Regions from separate parts of the Homo sapiens genome. Here regions 1 and 2 are each linked to region 3. Evidence: promoter capture Hi-C in 16 types of primary human blood cells and fetal thymus (Javierre and others, 2016). All regions are on one chromosome and are shown on one strand. Each heading gives the region's core, a stretch centred on a gene start or on the middle of the fragment in contact. The rest is flanking DNA. Distances are from core to core; before and after follow the strand shown.

What was found. Contacts are between HindIII fragments. The CHiCAGO score rates a contact against its expected background, and 5 or more counts as called.
Region 1: a fragment that was not itself captured here is called in contact with the fragment with the promoter of UQCRFS1 in region 3 in 1 of 17 cell types (naive CD8 T cells); the score reaches 6.6 in naive CD8 T cells.
Region 2: a contact is called between a fragment that was not itself captured here and the fragment with the promoter of UQCRFS1 in region 3, in 1 of 17 cell types (naive CD8 T cells). The highest score is 5.2, in naive CD8 T cells.

What each region holds. Positions count from the first base shown.
Region 1 is chr19:32,408,294-32,412,207 of GRCh38, reverse strand. DPY19L3 (dpy-19 like C-mannosyltransferase 3) reads right to left here. Exons shown (of 19, transcript NM_001172774.2): 2 at 3,852-3,914; 3 at 836-969. Among named protein-coding and RNA genes, the nearest start is that of DPY19L3, 4.5 kb to the right of the region's middle. The HindIII fragment of the contact is 772 bases long and covers 1,084-1,855 here.
Region 2 is chr19:32,581,142-32,585,088 of GRCh38, reverse strand. It overlaps PDCD5 (programmed cell death 5), which reads right to left and starts at 3,899. Exons shown (of 6, transcript NM_004708.4): 1 at 3,762-3,899; 2 at 2,857-2,894; 3 at 78-139. The coding sequence starts at 3,827. RefSeq lists silencers at 3,898-3,947, 3,420-3,947. The HindIII fragment of the contact is 1,457 bases long and covers 1,838-3,294 here.
Region 3 is chr19:29,210,828-29,214,768 of GRCh38, reverse strand. It overlaps UQCRFS1 (ubiquinol-cytochrome c reductase, Rieske iron-sulfur polypeptide 1), which reads left to right and starts at 1,618. Exons shown (of 2, transcript NM_006003.3): 1 at 1,618-1,864. The coding sequence starts at 1,651. UQCRFS1-DT (UQCRFS1 divergent transcript) reads right to left here and starts at 1,516. Exons shown (of 2, transcript NR_184022.1): 1 at 1,361-1,516. RefSeq lists an enhancer at 1,435-1,674 and a silencer at 1,715-2,024. The HindIII fragment of the contact is 13,970 bases long and covers 1-3,941 here.

The DNA.
Region 1 (3,914 bases), core at 220-2,719, 3.2 Mb before region 3:
TTAATGAAAAAGAAAAAACTCACTTGATTATAAAAATTCTGGGCTGGGTGCTATGGCTCATTCTCATATTTTGGAAGACCAGGGCAGTAGGATCGCTTGAGCCCAGGAGTTCGAGACCAGCATGGGCAACAAAGTGAGACCCTGTCTCTACAAAAAAATCAAATTTAGCTTGGTGAGGTGGTGCATGCCTGGGGTCCCAGTGACACAGGAAGCTTAGGCAGGATACTCACTTGAGCCCAGGAGGTTGAGGCTGCAGTGACCCATGTTTGCACCACTGCATTCTAGCCTGGGTGACAGAGCAATACCCTATCTCAAAAAATTAAAATGAAAAATAAAGATTCTGGCTGGACGCAGTGGCTCACGCCTGTAATCCCAGCACTTTGGGAGGCTGAGACAGGCAGATCACAAGGTCAGGAGTTCGAGATCAGCCTGGTCAATATGCTGAAACCCCGTCTCTAGTAAAAATACAAAAATTAGCTGGGTGTGGTGGCACGCACCTATAGTCCCAGCTACTTGGGAGGCTAAGCCAGAAGAATCACCTGAACCTGCGAGGCAGAGGTTGTAGTGAGCCAAGATTGCGCCACCGCACTCCAGCCTGGGTGACAGAGTGAGACTCCATCTCAAAAATAAATAAATAATAAAGAAAAATTTAAAAAAAGATTCTAATATGTTATTTTAAAATAATAAACACAAAAGTTATTTCACTCTATAGTCCAACCTTTCTAGAGATTGGATTCTTTATGGCAAAACTGTGTTGCCTTGGTCATTCATCCACATGGCTTACTACTGGAGATCCCACTGAGTGAATGATACAATGGTCAAAGAAACTCCATACCTTAATATTAGAAAACCATAAATCATTTTCATGTAACGTGGCAAGGTAGACAGATGTAAGAAGTCCAATGCAAAGGGCAATGGTTCCACCAATTGTCAATGACAAAATCTTCCATAATCTTCTACTGGTACAACCTTTTGGAAAAATGGAACAGATAAATAACTAAGTCAGTAAAAAAATCAGAATGTAATAGTTCTACTTCAGATTATCAAGTAAGCTAAGTCTAGCTGCCTGTCACTGGGAAAGCTTTTCCTGTCTCCAGCGGAGGGTCCTTTCTGATTCCACAGACCTGTTTTCATTCTATTACAACTGTTACCCCGTATCTAACTGTCCATGTGTCCATTCTGCCAACTACAACGTGAGCTTCTTGAAGACAAATACATTATCTTATTCATGTTTAATACTGAGGGCCTCTGTCCGGCACAGTTTAACAACCGTAATTTAACTATGAAGTCTGTTAAATGGATGACTAAATGTGTTACGTGTCTAGGACGTAATCGATCTTTTAGATAATCTAGGTACAATTGGTGGCTTATTCTTTAAAAGCTATTTTAAAAACTTGATTACCTAAAAAATAATTATTGTTTTTTGAGACAGGATCTTGTTCTGTTGCCCAAGATGGAATGCAGTAGTGCAATCTCGGTTCACTGCAACCTCTGCCTCCTAGGTTCAAGCAATTCTCCCACCTCAGCCTCCTGAGTAGCTGGGACTACAGGCACATGCCACCATGCCTGGCTAATTTTTGTATTTTTAGTAGATACAGGGTTTCACCATGTTGGCCAGGCTGGTCTTGAACTCCTGACCTCAAGTGATTCACCCACCCAAGCTGGGATCCTAAAGTGCTGGGATTACGGGCATGAGCCACTGCACCTGGCCGATTACCTAAAACTTTTTTTTTAAACCCACAGGTTTTGCAGGAATGCTCTGGGGGGAAAAACCCACAGAATAAATAATCCAACATAACTCAAGTTAAAGGACATATAAACTAGGCAAAATATGGATAGCACATATAAGAAAGCTTAAATACCCTTAACATAAGATGAATACTTTCAGGACAATTTATTTTATTTCAGGACAATTTATTGTCCTGTCAAGATGAATACTGCAGTAGGAAAAAGATTAAGGACATGAACAGGCAATGTACAATAGAAAAAAGTGGCCAATAATAATAACAGACTGAAGATGTTTAAATTCATTAATGTTAAAGAAATGCAAATCAAAACTGTGAGTTATACTTAAATCTTGGCCAATTTGACAGCTTTCAAAATGCTAATACTGTTTTGGTAAGGGTATAAAAAATAGACATCTTCAAACATTGCTGCTAGAAGAATAAATTGGTGCCTCTCTGGAATGCAACATGGCAGCAGTGAGTAAAAGCCACCAAAATGAGCATCCCATTTGGCCAGTAATTCCCAATCTAGGCATGTACCCTGCTGTGGTTTGACTATTCGGCCCCTCCAAATCTCATGATGAAATGTGATTCCCAATGTTGGAGGTGGGGCCTAATGGGAGGTGGTGTGGTGATGGAACCAGAGCCCTTATAAACAGGTTGGTGAGATTCTAGCAGTACTGAGTTTTCATTCTGTTAGTCCTAGGGGAGCTGGTTGGTTAAAAAAGAGCCTGACATCCTGTGTTCCCTGGAAATTGCTTCTACTCTGGTCATGTGATCTCTACACACTGGCTCCCCTAAGTCTTCTGCCACGACTGGAAGCTTCCTGAGGTCTCACTAGAGGCAGATGCTGGTGCCATGCTTCTCATACAGTCTGCAGAACCCTGAGGCAAAGAAACCTCTTTTCTTTATAAATCACCTAGCCTCAAGTATTCCTTTATAGCAACAGAAATGGACTAAGACATGCCCCAAGGAAATAAAGTTTTAAACAAACATATGGCCACAAGGAAATTGATCACAGTTCTGTCTGTATTAGCAAATGGTAAGAAAACCTTTCACTTCTACAGTGGCAGCTATAAAAATACTTTACATAGATGATATTTCAAAAATACGTTAACTGGCTTATGACATGTTCATAACATAATAAGAGAAAAATAGCAAGCTACAAAACAGCACGTGGATCCCAATTTTGCAAAACTGTATACGAATGCTTATGGGTATACATGTGCAGAATATGACATTAAGACAGCAAGACAGTGCCACTGGTGTTAGTTTCAGGATGGGAGTATATTTCTTTTTCTTTGCATTGTTTAAGGTGTTCAGAAAGTACTATTATCCAAAACGTGTTAATCACTCGCTAATGGCTGAGCCAGGTGTCATGACCTCCCATTACAGATTACTTTTGTTAAACTGTTTCCCTGAATTGCTTTACTAGCCTGGCTGGTAAGAATTAACATGGCTGTAAATAATGTAAATTCTGTCAGATATCCAAAATGGTTAATGGGTATGAAGATTTTCATGTTAACTTTTAAAATCCTGACCATGCTTTAGTTACAAAAGCTACTCAGGAAGCAAGAAGTTGGTAATTAATGCTATCTGATGCATCACTTAGCAAGTCTTTACCATTATACAAACAACTGACCAAGTTCTGATTACTTTTCCCACCAATAAAAGAAAAAAAAAAAAAAGCAAAAGAAAACTTCAGGAATTTGACTAATTATAAAGAATTTTTAAAAAATGTTGATCCACCTTTCACTACCTTAATGGAAACTCACCCAAGGTAAGGTTGCCTGGTGTAAATAGTATACACGACCAGAAAAATTAGAGAGAGACTAAAATCTGGGGTGTGGGTGGGGGGACCATTACTCTAGAGAGTCAAAGGATGAGATTGGAAGAACCGTAAGTTAATGAACAGACAGCTGACAAACACTTCTAATCAAAGCTCTTTCATCTTTTGTCAAATCATAACTGTAAAATCAATCTAATCAAATTGCAATTAGAATATCAGGGTACTACAACAAGTTTCAATTGTTAGGTCCCACCAAATTTTTATCCTATTGGAGAGTGACATTTTAATATGCAGAAATAAAAGCAACCCAAATTGCTGCTTTAGTTTAAATCACCTACCAGATGGCAATTTATTTTCCAACTTCACATTTTCTTCTTGGGCTGGAAAGTCTTCAGAAACTT
Region 2 (3,947 bases), core at 1,317-3,816, 3.4 Mb before region 3:
ATAGCAATAATGGTATCTAATCACCCCATTCAACTAACTCAAGCTAACTTTATGGAAATGAAATCAAAGATGCTTACACCTGGCCCGGGCCGACTGATCCAGAACTTGGGCTAAGATACTGTTTCTCATTTCTGCTTCCCTACAACGAAAACATAGGTCAAACACAATTAAAACACAGCTGTCGGCATTCCCATGTAACATACGAGAAAGAACCCATCCAGTATGTGTCTCCACATGGGGCCTGCGGTATACAAACTGCATTATGGTAGTTGCTGTACATAAGGCTGCAGCTACATTCAAGTAGAATCCCCTTTTGCCCTCAAAGAACCAGCTTTATATTACACAGGTGACAACCTACCAGGCTGGAAGGTGAGCTTTACAGTTTCATCAGAGTGGAGCCTCAGTTCAAACACCATCACCAACATTTCTTAAGTACCTATTGCGTGACAGGTGCTAGAAATTTATAGTGGGATTTCAGGCAATTAGAAGGACCATGTGACTAATCTATATCATTTTCTTAGAGATAAAGCTGAGATCCAGGAGGCTATGCTAAAGAGACATAGGTAACTGTGGCCAAGCTACAGCCAGATTCCATGTTTTAAGACTCTCAGTTCTATTTTTCTGGGTGGGGAAGGGGAATGAAATTATAACTTTGCAACTATCCTCACTTCTTCCTACCTACCCAAATAGAAAGTAGTTCACGTTCACAGGACAGTGGTCTCATGGACTTGTTTCTTTTTTCTTTCAAATGAAATCCTTTAAGAAATCTAAAAACAAATGAGCACAGATGCTTTGGCTCAACTGAGAGGGAGAGCTGGGGCTGGCTGTGCCCACTATCCACTCCCAGCTCAGAGGCCCTTCGGTTCATGGAATGTGGCTTAAAGCTCATTTCCATAGGCCACTTCTTTATGGTTTGAGTACTGCAGCCCTGCCACAAACTTTAAGAGATGGGGTCTAGGCCAGGCATGGTGGCTCATGCCTGTAATCTCAGCACTTTGGGAGGCTGAGGTGGGTGGATCACTTGAGGTCAGGAGTTTGAGACCAGCCTGGCCAACATGGTGAAACCCCATCTCTACTAAAAATACAAAAATTAGCCGGGCATGGTGGCGGGTGCCTGTAATCCCAGCTACTTGGGAGGCAGAGGCAGGAGAATCGCTTGAAGCTCAGAGGCAGAGGTTACGGTGAGCCAAGATTGTGCCACTGCACTCCAGCCTGGGTGATGGAGTGAGACTTCATCTCAACAACAATAAAAAAAGATGGGGTCTCACTCTGCTGTTCATGCTGGAGTACAGTGGTGCAATCACAGCTCACTGCAGCTATGATCAGCTCAAGCTCCTGTGCTCAAGTGATTCTTCCCCCTCGGCCTCCTGAGTAGCTGGGTCTACAGGCTTCAGTCACCACACCTGGCCTGCCACAAACTATTATATCACAGAACCCTAAGATGCCATCAATTCTAAGATACACCATAGTTTTACGTATCTCTAAAAATGAAAAACCCTAAAATGAGAGGTCTAATAGAGATCTCCATTCAAAACTGGGGTTTCTCGGGAGGCCAAGGTGGGAGGATCACTTGAAGCCAGGAGTTTGAGACCAGCCTGGGTGATATAGCGAGGCTATTAAAAAAAAAAAAAGTTTAAAAAAATTAGCCAGGCATGGTGGTGCACGCCTGTCATCTCAGCTCCTCAGGAGGCTGAGGTGGGAGGATCACTTGAGCCCAGCAGGAGTTTGAGGCTGCAGTGAGTTCTGATCCCACCACTGGGGTATCAAAGAGCAACATTCTCAGTACAAAGTAAAGAATAAATAAATATGCCATGCAGTAAGGGGCAGTACAAAAGCTTGCATGCACCTGGCCCTGACGTAAAGAAGAAAAAAGTTCAGTCTTACAGGGTTGCTGTCTGAATTCACACTACTAGGCAGGAGGCAGGGGAAAACCTCAAGCAGAGAATTTAACTTTCAATGGTCTCAGAAATGTACTCAAGTGATAGCAGAGTCAAAAGTAAATCCCCTCTGGAAGAATCTGGGGCAAGAGCAATCTGTTTTAAAAGGCATCCTGATTTCAGATATGTGACAATGAAAAGATGTACACGGCAGAAATCAATGAAATTTGCGTCGTTTTACTTCCTATCACTACTCCAGATACTTCTCACCGTCTGTCTTCTCCCGAACCCTCCCTTCCTATTTCTGTAGACCCAGCACAGTGCCTGACCCAGAGCAGGTGCTCTATAAATATTTGCTGGAGAGGAGGAGTAAGAAGGTGAGGAAGGGGAAATAGAGAATTGTCCAGTAGCTAAAGGTTTCAGTCTTGCAAGATGAAAACATTCTAGAGTGTGAACACTACTGAAGAGCACACTTAAAAATGGTTGTGATGGTGAAATTTTATTTAACCACAATTTTTAAAAAATGATAGCATGATAGGGTAATCACATACTCATTCAATAAACCTGCCACCGAATCAATTACCTGCATCTGTCTCAGGTGCTGTGCGCTGTGTTGGGATAAAACAATCAGAATAGCTTACCAGTTAACACTTATTGAGCACTTACTAAGTGAGGCACCGGACTCACGTCACCCCCACAGCCGAGGAAACTGCCACAGCTGCCTATTATCAGGCTCATTTTTAAGGTACTCACATTGTAGCAGAGAAACATCAACCAGTAATTGCAATACAAGGTCTGATGTGGAGCTGCACACGTGTTTATTTAACAATAATGAAGATACCCTGCGGATGATTTTGGCCAAATCACCATTCCAGCAAAACAAAAAAATCTGAGTCACACACCTGCTTAAAATAACTACAGCAAAAGAAATCCATTTGGTGAAACCACCCTTCAAAAAGTTCACGTTTCCAGCCCATACCTGTGCTTTGCTTCCTGTTGGGCCGCATCACCAGGATCCTGGAAAAAAAAAACTTAAATTTAATAGAGAAATTTCACGGGAGGCGGCGGGAAAAAGGAACGGTTCTGTTGTTTCCTATACATAACAGTCTCTTGCGGTGGTAGAAACAACTCCCCAAATAAGAAACTGGGCCTCACAGAAATCAATGAACTAGTTCCCACTTACAACGTTTTGATGAACGTCTAAAACCACAACCTCAGAAGGCTTTGGAATACAGAGCACCCTGGGGAGGGGAATCCCTGTATTACGAAACCGTGTTTCACATGTAGGAATAATTTCTGGAAAATAAAACGGGCCTCGGTATTAGGGACAACGATAACTCAAAGACTGCGCCCTCCGTCCCTAAGGTCCCGGTCCCTTATCAGAAACGCCTCTCCGGGCGTGTGATCCATCCAAGCTTCCCAGGCGGCCCCTCCCTGTCATCCCGGCGGGGCAAGCGTTCCTCCGACCCTGCCGCGCTCTCAGCACCGGGAACACAGCGGACCCTCAATACCTGTCGGCTAAACTTGGGTCATAACAACTGAACTCCGGAAAAACTGAATTCGGTCCGGCTGCTGGCTCCAAAAGCTGAGATTGTGCTTGGATCCAGGCCCGCCAGGACGAGCCCGCTCCAGGCTAGGGGACCCCACACCCCAACGCCAGGGCAGGTCCCGCACGTGGCGGCCCCCGCCGCCAGCCTCCTGGGCCCCTCGCGACGAGGAAAGCGACGAGGCCACCTCTGAGCCGGCCACGAGGCCGCCAGGGCAGCGCAGGGGACCGGGGCCCCGGGGAGGCGCCCAGAGCCTCCGCCCCGGAGGCGCGCCCTACACTCCGGGCGAGGGCGGCGCCCCGCGAGGGCCAAGCCTGGCGGGGGCTGATGCGCTCACCCCGTGTTTGGCCTGCAGCTCGGCCAGCCTCTGTCTCCTCAGCGCCTCAAGCTCCTCGTCCGCCATGGCTCGGCGTCAGCGCTGGAGCAGCCGCGGTCACTCTCGCAGCCCCTCGGCGCGAGCGCGGCCTTGACCACTGCGCAGGCGCTCGCGGGGCCCAGGCGCCACCAATCCAGCCCGGAGCCA
Region 3 (3,941 bases), core at 369-2,868:
GTCCCTTGGGCTATAAGGCTGGTCAAAGCCTAGGCCCTAAGGGGAGTCATAGGAAGGTCAAAGGGGAAACCTGTCAGTACACTTTGGACCTGGCATGAGGAATAACAACGAGTCAGCAAGGATCAAGGGAAGGCTTCTTAGAGGAGGTGGCATCTCAGATAAAAACACCACTAGCAAATCCTCACTTGGTGCTGCCTGTGTGCTGGGCCTGCTTGTAGATGCTTTACACGTTTTAGTTCATTTACTCCTCCCAGTAACTTTACAACACACATGGCATCATTACTGCCCCCATTTGGCAGGTGAGGAAACTGAGGCACAGAGAGGTGAGGGAACTTGCCCAGATCACAGAGCCCATGCACAGCACAGAGCCAATTCTGTGCACTGCTTATATTAACATTTACTTAATATTTAAATTATTTTTGACCTAAATGAAAAACTTTATCTCAGTATAGTACAGAATAGAAAACCAGTATGGATAGAAAATCAATACTATGAACCATATAATGAAATCACTCTAGACTCAGTTCTCTGCTAAGAGCTTCTAACTCAAGATCTTTTCTGTTAAAAGTGGGAGATAAGTGTAGAGAGGAATTAAAGATATATTAGGATCAAACTGAGGCCAAGTGAATTTGCTCATGCCTATAATCCCAGTACTTTGGGAGGGGGAGACAGGACTCCTTGAGGCCAGAAGTTCGAGACTGGAGTGGGCAATATAGTGAGACCTCATCTCTACTTTTTTTTTTTTTTAATTAAAGATGTATTAGCACCAAACTGAGACTTTCTCATTGGTGCAATCAGGATTGAAAAACAAAACAAAAGAAAACAAAACTTTCTCACTATGTGATGGAACATGAATGAGCGAGCTCTGTGCATCCTCTAAAATTCTAAAATCCTACTTTGGGAAACAGTGGTGGCACTGAAGAGCATAGACTCAGGAGACAGATTACCCTGCTTCACATCTTGCTGGCTATCCAGTTCCTGGAAAAGAATCTCTCTAAACCTCGGTTTCTTCATGGGTAAAATGCTGATAGTAATAGCTCTGACTTCATAGAGACCTTGATAACAAATGAAAGAACGTAGGTATAATAAAACGCAAAACCAAATACACAGTGAATACTTAATAAACATAATCCATTAGCATTATCGAGCTTTGCACAGATGCCTCTGGCCTTTTTGTTGTTGTTGTTGTTAGATGAAGATAATAAAAATCATCATAGTAAACACATAGCGATTACTATGTGCTGGACTTCGTCGTAGTTGAGATATATTACCATCCTAAGTTAAACTATAATCGTTTATTGTTATCTCTAGGTCTTCCTAGATGAAATTTTTACCCTAAAGGATCGTAAAGTCGGCCCACCGGACGTCAGTGGGGTCCCCTGTTCAGCCCTCTCGTTCTTCTGGGGATCTCTCGGGACACTGACGAGGTGGCACCGGGACCTACAGGTGGGCCGCAAGCCCCGCCCCCAGCGACGGCTTGTAGCCCCGTCCCCCGACGCAGCGCCTCTCCAAGTTTGCCCCGCCCTGCAGGACTGCAGAATTTCCTTTCCGGCGGCGCGCTGTCGTCACGCGTCCCGCGCCTCCTCGCGCCTGCGCCGTGGTTGGAAGGTCGTCCCTGTGACCGGCTTGGCGGTTGGAGCGGCTGTCGCCATGTTGTCGGTAGCATCCCGCTCAGGCCCGTTCGCGCCCGTCCTGTCGGCCACGTCCCGCGGGGTGGCGGGCGCGCTGCGGCCCTTGGTGCAGGCCACGGTGCCCGCCACCCCGGAGCAGCCTGTGTTGGACCTGAAGCGGCCCTTCCTCAGCCGGGAGTCGCTGAGCGGCCAGGCCGTGCGCCGGCCTTTGGTCGCCTCCGTGGGCCTCAATGGTGAGCCGGGGCGAGGGCCGCGAGCAGGGCTGGGGGTCTCTCGGTGCCCGCTCCTCCGGCCCCCAGCAGGGAGCGGCCGCGGGCGCGCGAGCGGAGCCTGAATCAGGTCGGGCTGGGCGGCCTCCGCAACTCTGGGCCTGGCCCCCGGGCTCGGGGCGTCTTTCTGGTGGCCGGCCTGGACTCGCGTCCGCCGGCTTCGCCTGGTTCCTCCTCGGCCGAGTTCACGAGCTCTGTAGTCCCGCTGTTCCAGCCACCTCTGAGGGGTTTTGTTGCTTGCAGGTCGTTTGACCTTGGGCGAGTTTCTAAACGTACTTCCTGTGAAATGGATTCATATCTTTATCAATTTTGTAGGGGTGTCGTGAGGCTTAGGTGGAGGAATTCTACGTAAAGCCGTTAGCACAGTTTGGGCACTTACATGCTTAAGAAATGGAAACTTACTAATATTTGGGAAGTTGGTCTTCTCACCACTACCGATCCCTTCATGTCCTTCCCCTTCATCACCCCCCCACCAAAAAAAAAACAAAAAAAACATACACAAGGTCAGTTACAGTGTAGTGTCACAACATAATCAGTCGTCAAGGACGGGCAGAGATTGACGACATTTACATTTTACAGATGAGAAAACAGACGAGGTAGAATGACTCGCACCAGGATCCGTGGTGTGGACATGTGGTAGCAGGGATTTGACAAGACGAATTGTCGTAGCCACTGAGCTCTTCGCAGGGGCTATTCCACACCCTCTGTCCTTAGATCCCCGTTTATCTTCTTTGCCTCGCCTTCCATCTTTACTTGGCCCTGTATCGGAGATAGAGAAATGGCAGCCTGTGGGCAGTGTGTCTGCAGGCTGTGTAGTTTTCAAAAAAACTGGGAAGACTAATGGCATCTCTTAAAATGCTGGAAGCCGGTAATACTGGGATCTAGTTTCTACTTGGGAAAATTCCATAGTGTGCTGTGTAGTGGCCGCCCCCGCAGTTGGAGCAAGTGGTCTTCTCCAGTTTGTCACAGTCTTTACCAGGTCTGCGTGTTTCATTCTGTTACCAGCCTGGCTCCACTGATAGCTGTTTGTGACTCTTCCCCTACACGCTAACCAAATTGCCCGCCACTTTTCTTTTTACTCTGTCTTCATTCACCCTGGGCTCTGCACTTTCTTCATGGTCCTTCCACTAAGTTGCTACATGTCCATATGTTTTCCTTACCCATCTTTTCAATCTCAGTTAAGGATCAGGTGAATAAAGTTTTTATTTGCTGATTTGTCTGTCTCTGTAGCACATACACTTTACACTCTGTATTGTGTTTATTGGTAACTCCTCCACCCTTGGGCTTAAGGGCATAGAGAAGGTAATATCTTCTTTATTTTTCTATCTTTCACAACGTCGGATTTTGTATACAGTTAGTGCAAAGTATTTGTGAATGAATATTTGTTAAGGAGCATCAGTGGGTTTTGAAGAAACTGTCCATGGCAGGTGTAGAGTACCCTAGCCCATCCTTGGGACCTGGAGGTGAGAAGGAAGGAAGGAGAACATTTCAATAGCAAAAGAAAAGCATCTTTGGAATTCGTCGTGTTGCTAAAGTTTCTTCAAAAAATTGGAGGCTTACATTTCTCTGATGGCCAGTGATGCTGAGCATTTTTTCATGTGTTTTTTGGCTGCATAAATGTCTTCTTTTGAGAAGTGTCTGTTCATGTCCTTCGCCCACTTTTTGATGGGGTTGTTTGTTTTTTTCTTGTAAATTTGTTTGAGTTCATTGTAGATTCTGGATATTAGCCCTTTGTCAGATGAGTAGGTTGCAAAAATTTTCTCCCAATTTTTAGGTTGCCTGTAAACCACAATGAGATACCATCTCACACCAGTTAGAATGGCAGTCATTAAAAAGTCAGGAAACAACAGGTGCTGGAGAGGATGTGGAGAAATAGGAACACTTTTACACTGTTGGTGGGACTGTAAACTAGTTCAACCATTGTGGAAGTCAGTGTGGAGATTCCTCAGGGATCTAGAACTAGAAATACCATTTGACCCAGCCATCCCATTACTGGGTATATACCCAAAAGACTATAAATCATGCTGCTATAAAGACACAT